Regions from separate parts of the Homo sapiens genome. Here region 2 is linked to region 1. The links are contacts of gene promoters, found by promoter capture Hi-C in human tissues and cell types (Jung and others, 2019). All regions are on one chromosome and are shown on one strand. The core of a region is centred on a gene start or on the middle of the fragment in contact, and the rest is flanking DNA. Distances in the headings are between cores, read along the strand shown. Region 1 holds the start of GPX3 (glutathione peroxidase 3). Region 2 overlaps SMIM3 (small integral membrane protein 3).

Region 1 (3,294 bases), core at 562-3,061:
AACCTTAAAAGACAACAGAACAACATGGAGAGGGCCTGAGACTGAGTCTAGAGACCTGGATTCTGGTTCCCTCCCTGCCATCAGTTGGTTATGGGAACTTGGATAAATTGCTCCTCATCTCTAGGCTTCAGGGAAATGAGGTGGTTGAATAAAACGTATTGAGCACTTACTGTGTGTCAGCCATTGTTCATATGCTCCCAGGCTTTAACTCAGCTAAAGACTTCCTGGCCTCTGTGGTTCCTTCCACTTCAACAGGCTGTGGTTTGAGGTGGGAAGACTTCGTAGAGAATGCAAAACTTGAGAGACATCTTCCAAATTCCCAGGGGGATGTTAATACCTTTAATCATAGTAAAGGTATGGTTTCTCAAGGCATTTCTTGGTCAGAAGAAAGTTCCAGAAGGCACTTAATCCTAGGACTCACACTACCAAGGCTACAGCCAGGCCAACTGCCTCACAATAACCTTAGAACATGTCTGAAGACAGATTTTCAGCTTCTGCCCCTAGAGATTCTAATGCAGTGATTCCAAAGTGGGGTCCAGGAATCTGTATTAAAGGCTTCCCAGTTGACTCTGGTGGTCAGAGAGATTTGAGACTGATTCCATCACATTCCCCATCTGTGAACGGGATCATACCTAGACAGCCCAGCCCTAGAACTGCCTGGTCTGATCCTAAGTGTTCCATGGAGATTTTGTTTTTTTAATGTAATGAATGATTAAGTCAGCAAATACTTTACATCTCTTGTGTGCTAGGCCCTGTGCCAGGTGGTGATTATGGGCCCTATTCTCAAAGGACTCCTGGTCTCCGTCTGTCACTTACTTTAGAAACAAGTCATCTAGCCAGAGCCAGAAGGGCACTGGAGATCACTAATCAATCCCATCATTACATAGCTGAGGAAACTGAGGCCCAGAGAGTAACTGCAACATGTTAAAGACTACACAGGGAGCAAATTTATTTTCTGCTTCTAAGCCAGGTGGTTTGGCCACAGATAGGCCAAGAAGAATACGAACAGACAAGCCTTGCTGGGTTTCCCACTCAGTTTATTACTATTAGACCATTCCCTTTTTCCCCACTCACATTTCTGCGCATTTCCATGGTCTTCATAGAATCTAAGCCTAAAAATAGAGTTTTCCTTGAGTCTTTGGGTCTTCATTTCTGAAGACTCTCATGTCACAGAAAACTTTAATTAAATAAATCGTTATGCTTTTCTCTTGCTAACCTTTTTCTACAGGCATGTCAGCTGTGATCCTTATGATGGGGAGGAAAGGCACCCCACCTTCTCTGTCCCTACAGTCCTAATGCCCTACCCAGAATGGGGTTTTCAAAATCCCAGGACACCCACTCTTTGTTTCTTAAGCACTAAACCTATATATAGTAAATGTTTCTGGAAGTTTAACTTCAGCTCTTGCTGAAATTTTAAACCCTCAATTTCCAGAGGACCATCGCCAGGTGTTTTTAAAACCTCGATAGGAATAAGAAATGCTTCCCAGAATGGAGACTTCCATCAGTTCTAGGGAGCTATTAGCCCCCTTGCCCTGGCTGTAATGGAGACCGCTGTGTCTGCCTCCTTTCGCACTTTGGAGCCAAAAGAGGAAGGGACCGCCTCCCACGTCCACAGGGACCTGACTTCCACCTCTCTGCCCAGATTTGCTTATGTCACTGTCGCCCCGGGACGGGGAGGTGGGGAGCTGAGGGCAAGTCGCGCCCGCCCCTGAAATCCCAGCCGCCTAGCGATTGGCTGCAAGGGTCTCGGCTTGGCCGCGGATTGGTCACACCCGAGGGCTTGAAAGGTGGCTGGGAGCGCCGGACACCTCAGACGGACGGTGGCCAGGGATCAGGCAGCGGCTCAGGCGACCCTGAGTGTGCCCCCACCCCGCCATGGCCCGGCTGCTGCAGGCGTCCTGCCTGCTTTCCCTGCTCCTGGCCGGCTTCGTCTCGCAGAGCCGGGGACAAGAGAAGTCGAAGGTGAGTGAGCCTCCGGGCCGGGGGCCGGGAGAAAAAACCTAGCCCCTCGGTGTCCAGCGCTCAGTGCAATGCACCCCTTTTCCCAGGCTCCCCGCCAGATGGGCAATCCCCAGGTGCGAGAGACCTCCTGAACCCCTTTTGCCGCCCCCTCCGCCGCCGGGACCCCGCCCCCGACCGTCGTCGTCTCGTAGTTCCATCTGTTGGAGAGCCGAGACCTGGTGCTTCAGGCGGGCAGAATGACTAAGGGAGGAAGGTCTCTCTCCCCGAGCTCGCACTTTCTCCCCACTGCCACCTCGAGGGTCGCCTTGCTACATCTATGTCACCTCCGTGCCTGAGCTGCTCCCCTTCAGTAGGGCCTAAGAGGGAGGGCGTCACAGAAAAAAATGCCCAGCGTCTGGGTGGGCTGTGCAAGTTCCCAGGGAGAGAGACAAGGAGAAAGGAGAGAGGCAGCTGGGTGGTCCTGGTCCTGAAGAACTGCTGTGGGGGGCTCTTCTACCCCAAGAATGATACAGGCAGGTAGAAATGGCCACTTGGATTCAGGGCATTGGTAGAAGAGGCAGAGATCTGTGCTAGAAAGAGCTCTGGAGTGACAGTGCAGAACACTCAGGACCCTGAGTCCTTACCTGCTCCTGGACCCCCGTTTCTCCATCTGCAGGGGAGAGTTTGGGGGTGGGAGTGCATGGGGCACAATGAAGCTGAGGGCCTCAGAGGGGATGCTTGGAGAAGCTGAAAAATCCACAAGCTGTTCTCTGAAATTTCCTCCCCTGGGGCAGCCTCACTACCCAGGACCCACTGTCCTCATTAGCCTGAGGAAACCTGGTAGTTGGAGAAAGCTGGGGACTGCTAATTCAGAAGAAGAGGTAGAATTCTCTAGAGCCTCAGTCTATTTCCAGCAGGTGTGTGGCCCACACCTGGAGTGGGGATACTGAGGCCAGGAGTGGGATGACCCAGCATGCTTATCTCCTTTGACAGTATGTACTGGGGTGGGCTCTGTAGACCTCTCCTCTACCCAGGGAGTGGGAGTGGGTGGGGAAGGAGGCAGAAGCCAGGTGTAGGGATAGACTCAAAGCGAGCGATTTCTGTCTCCAACTTCCCAACATGCATAACTCACATTTTTGCAAGCTCTGAGCTTTTGTTTCTAAAATCCTCTGGGTCTTCACTTTAATTAAGTTCTTATGAGTCTAGGATTCCGTTTCCAAAATTCTGTCCACTTCTCAGGAAGCCCATTGGAAGCACAGGGTTCCTTCCATGTTACTCACCCCTTTTCGGTCCTCAGCCTAAATCCGATTAATCAGCCTCTCCTTGGAGTCAGTCTAAATGGATGTGAAGCCA
Region 2 (3,294 bases), core at 467-2,966, 240 kb before region 1:
ATTCTCTGAACTTCATTGGAATTGGGGGGAACTAGGTTCAGATCTTGCCTCTGTCACTTACTTTCAGGGTGACCTGAGAGAAGTTAAGTGAGAATTTGATAGTCACTGTTCTAGTGGATCCCTAGAGACCTAGTATCCTTCCAACTCACTAGGGAAACAGAAGGTGAACCTCAAGAGATAATGGAGACATCTAGCAGTAAAGGCTAAGAATTAGGTAGTTAGGAAGGGGAACTGCTCAGAAGTATAATTGCCTGGCACATTAAACAACAGCAAGCTAGATTCCACGTCTAAACCATATACTTTAAATTGCTTAGTTGTGTATAGATAGAGCTTCCTTATTTTATTGATTTGCACTCTGATTGGCTGATTGGATATGTTTCTTGCTAGTGACCCACTATATAGGATCATATTCAAGATTCTGGGGACCAGGACATAGATGTCTTTGGTGGTGGTGGTGGTGGGCATTATTCTGCTTTCCACACACATGAGGCTGACTTTGGGAGAGCGACCTGTTGAGGCTCACACATTGAGGCAAGGCACTACCACCGCCCGGTGCTCTTGCAGCTCTGTCACGGAGCACCCTGCCAGCACCTCTCATGGACAGTCTCCTTTGTTAGCCCGACACACAGCAGGCACTTAGTCACTGGCAAATAGCAATGATGGATAGTAGTGCCTTAAACAGGATGCTGGGGATTTGGCCTGGGCTTTCTCCTCTGCTAGCTCTCTGTTGGTTTCTAAGACTCTGTGATTGGCTGGGTCAGATGGTACGTGCGGTCTTACACAGCTCTGGCTGTGTTCCGATCTCTTTGAAATATCTTGGTGTTTTTCCATTTTTCCAGCCACAGAGGAGCAGATGGAAACTCAGGCAGGTCTGTAGTCTGTTAGGAAGTTTGGAGAGACAGGGGCCAGTTGGGGTGAAATGAGAACAGAGTGCTCCTTAGGGACTTTGGGTCATTGGAGAAAAGGCTGTGATTTGATTCATTTCACATTTTTGGTAGTTGTATGTCCTGTCCATTCCTTCCTCTGGCCCCTTTATTTGGACCAAAGGTCCCTGGTGAAATGACTGTGCTGGGTTGGTAAATGTTTGAGGCTGTTACACAGTGGGAGGAGAAATACTTCCAAGAGTAAATGTGAAGCTGGTATGTCCTTCTCATATTGGACTTGGCATGGGAAACCTGCCCCCACTTTTATCAGCCTCCCTGACCTCTTCTAAGAACAGAAAGATTCACATCTTGGGCAACATCACTGCTCCCCTCACCCCTGGTCCCTCCTCCCCACCTCAGTCCCCAGCTCCTGAGCACATGGAGTCAGAACTCGAATTTGAGCTTATCGGCCCAAGCAAATCAACAAGTGGGAATCCTAGAGGGCTTCGTTCTGAAAGGCCAGTTCTCTTCTGCCTGGTATGTACAGGGTGGGCTGGGGAAGAAAGAGCCCCCCATAATCCTTCCTGAATGTACAAAGAGCCCAGAAAATGATAAAATCAGAGGACATCATGTTATTTTGGAGATAGTGTTCTGACTTTTAGAATCACTGGGACTTTTGCAGGGATGAGGATTCTTTCTGGACCTCTTCAGTCAATTAGGTTCCACGAGTGAGCTCACATCTGAAATAATCTTCCCATATTCATTTCTTCATTGATTTCATATTTGTTGGCACTTGTGATATGCCAGGCCCTGTGATAGGTGCTGAGGACACAGCAATACACAAGAGGTGAGGCTTCTGCTCTCCCTGTGCTTGCGTTTGAGGGAGCAAATGAACAAGTCTTTAGCCTGATAGGAAAAAAGCCAATAAAAACAAACAAGCAACAAACAAGCTAATTTTAGATTGTGAAAAGCATATGCAGAAAATAAAACAAGATAAGAGTGATAGTTTAACAGAGTGGGTCGGGAAAAACTTTACTAAAACGTAACATTTAGGTTGAGGTCATGGACATTGAGACAATGGACAGGGGAGGAAAAGAGCATTCTGAGAAGGAACAGCAAACACAAAGTTCTTCAAGTGGGATCAGCCCCTGGGACACAGTTGTTAGGTTCCCCAGGCTACAAAGTGGCCAGTGTGGCCCCATCTAGGAACTTGAATTGCCCTCTCTGGCTTAAATGTTCCATTCTTCCTTGACAACCTCAGCAGCATCTTCTGAGGGTGGAGACTTTTTGGAAGGGGTCCTATAAGGTGGACAATGCTGGCAAACCCTCTAGTCCTGTGCCCTGGGAACCATCAGCCTTGTTCACATTCTGCAAAATACTTGAAGAGTCATGTATCTTTGGACGCCTCAGCATCAGTGACTTGGAGCTGGTTATAGCTGTCTGCTCTCTGGCCACCGTGGCTGGTGGAAACAAAACAGCAGCAGCATGGTCTGCCCAGAGTTCTGGCAGTGCTGGGCTAAGGCCACACCTGCAGGAAGCCACCTGCCTCTATCTGCCTTGTCTCCCACTTTGAGATAATTAAGCTTGCCTGCCAGCAGGCAGTCACTTCTTTTATTGCCTTCTTCCTCAGTGAACTCTGGCAGTAAAACCGGTTGGATAACCATTGGCAAGCTCTCAAAAGTTGACTGTTAGTTGCAGCTCGGATGTGGAGGGTGTAAGTTTCCGGTGGGAGGTTCAAGCTGGGGACAGCTTAAAATTTTTTTACTTAAAAAAACTTTTCACTGTGGTTTCCTACATTGGGCCCAGATCAGTCACGAAGCAGTCACGGCACCCTAACTAATGGCAGAGGCTTTGAACTCCCTTTTTTTTTTTTTTTTTTTTTTTGATACGGAATCTCACTCTGTCACCAGGCTGGAGAGCAGTGGTGTGATCTTGGCTAACTGCAACCTCCACCTCCTGGGTTCAAGCGATTTTCCTGCCTCAGCCTCCCGAGTAGCTGGGACTACAGGTGTGCACTACCACACCCAGCTAATTTTTGTACTTTTAGTAGAGGCAGGGTTTTACCATGTTGGCCAGGATGGTCTCCATCTCTTGACCTTGTGATTTAGGAACGATGCCGGGTTCACTAGCTCAGCTTAACTTCGTGAAGCCCTTACTGTGTACCAGACGTTGTCCTAAGTGCTTTATGCGCATTAGCTCATTTAACCTCCAGAGCATCCCTATGAAGTGGTTACAATTATTAGTTATTATTTCCATTTTACAAATTAGGAGACTAAAGCTCAAAGAGGTTAAACCTCTTGCCAAAGCCACCAGGACTCCATATGCTTCCAACACTTCATGTATCTCATCAACTCTGGGCTTTGTTGATAACATCTATTCTGCTCATCCTGCCTTTCCCCACAAGATCTGAGAGAGACATCTTGAAATCTCC

The links. The method cuts DNA at HindIII sites, captures the fragments that hold promoters and counts their contacts. A contact is called where the count stands out against the background at its distance.
Region 2: a fragment that was not itself captured here is called in contact with the fragment with the promoter of GPX3 in region 1 in 1 of the 25 tissues and cell types used here (pancreas).

The regions. Positions count from the first base shown.
Region 1 is chr5:151,018,780-151,022,073 of GRCh38, forward strand. It overlaps GPX3 (glutathione peroxidase 3), which reads left to right and starts at 1,812. Exons shown (of 5, transcript NM_002084.5): 1 at 1,812-1,962. The coding sequence starts at 1,876. RefSeq lists an enhancer at 3,257-3,294. The HindIII fragment of the contact is 19,688 bases long and covers 1-3,294 here.
Region 2 is chr5:150,781,191-150,784,484 of GRCh38, forward strand. The region is part of intron 1 of SMIM3 (small integral membrane protein 3); the gene reads left to right. Among named protein-coding and RNA genes, the nearest start is that of SMIM3, 4.1 kb to the left of the region's middle. The HindIII fragment of the contact is 5,049 bases long and covers 1-3,294 here.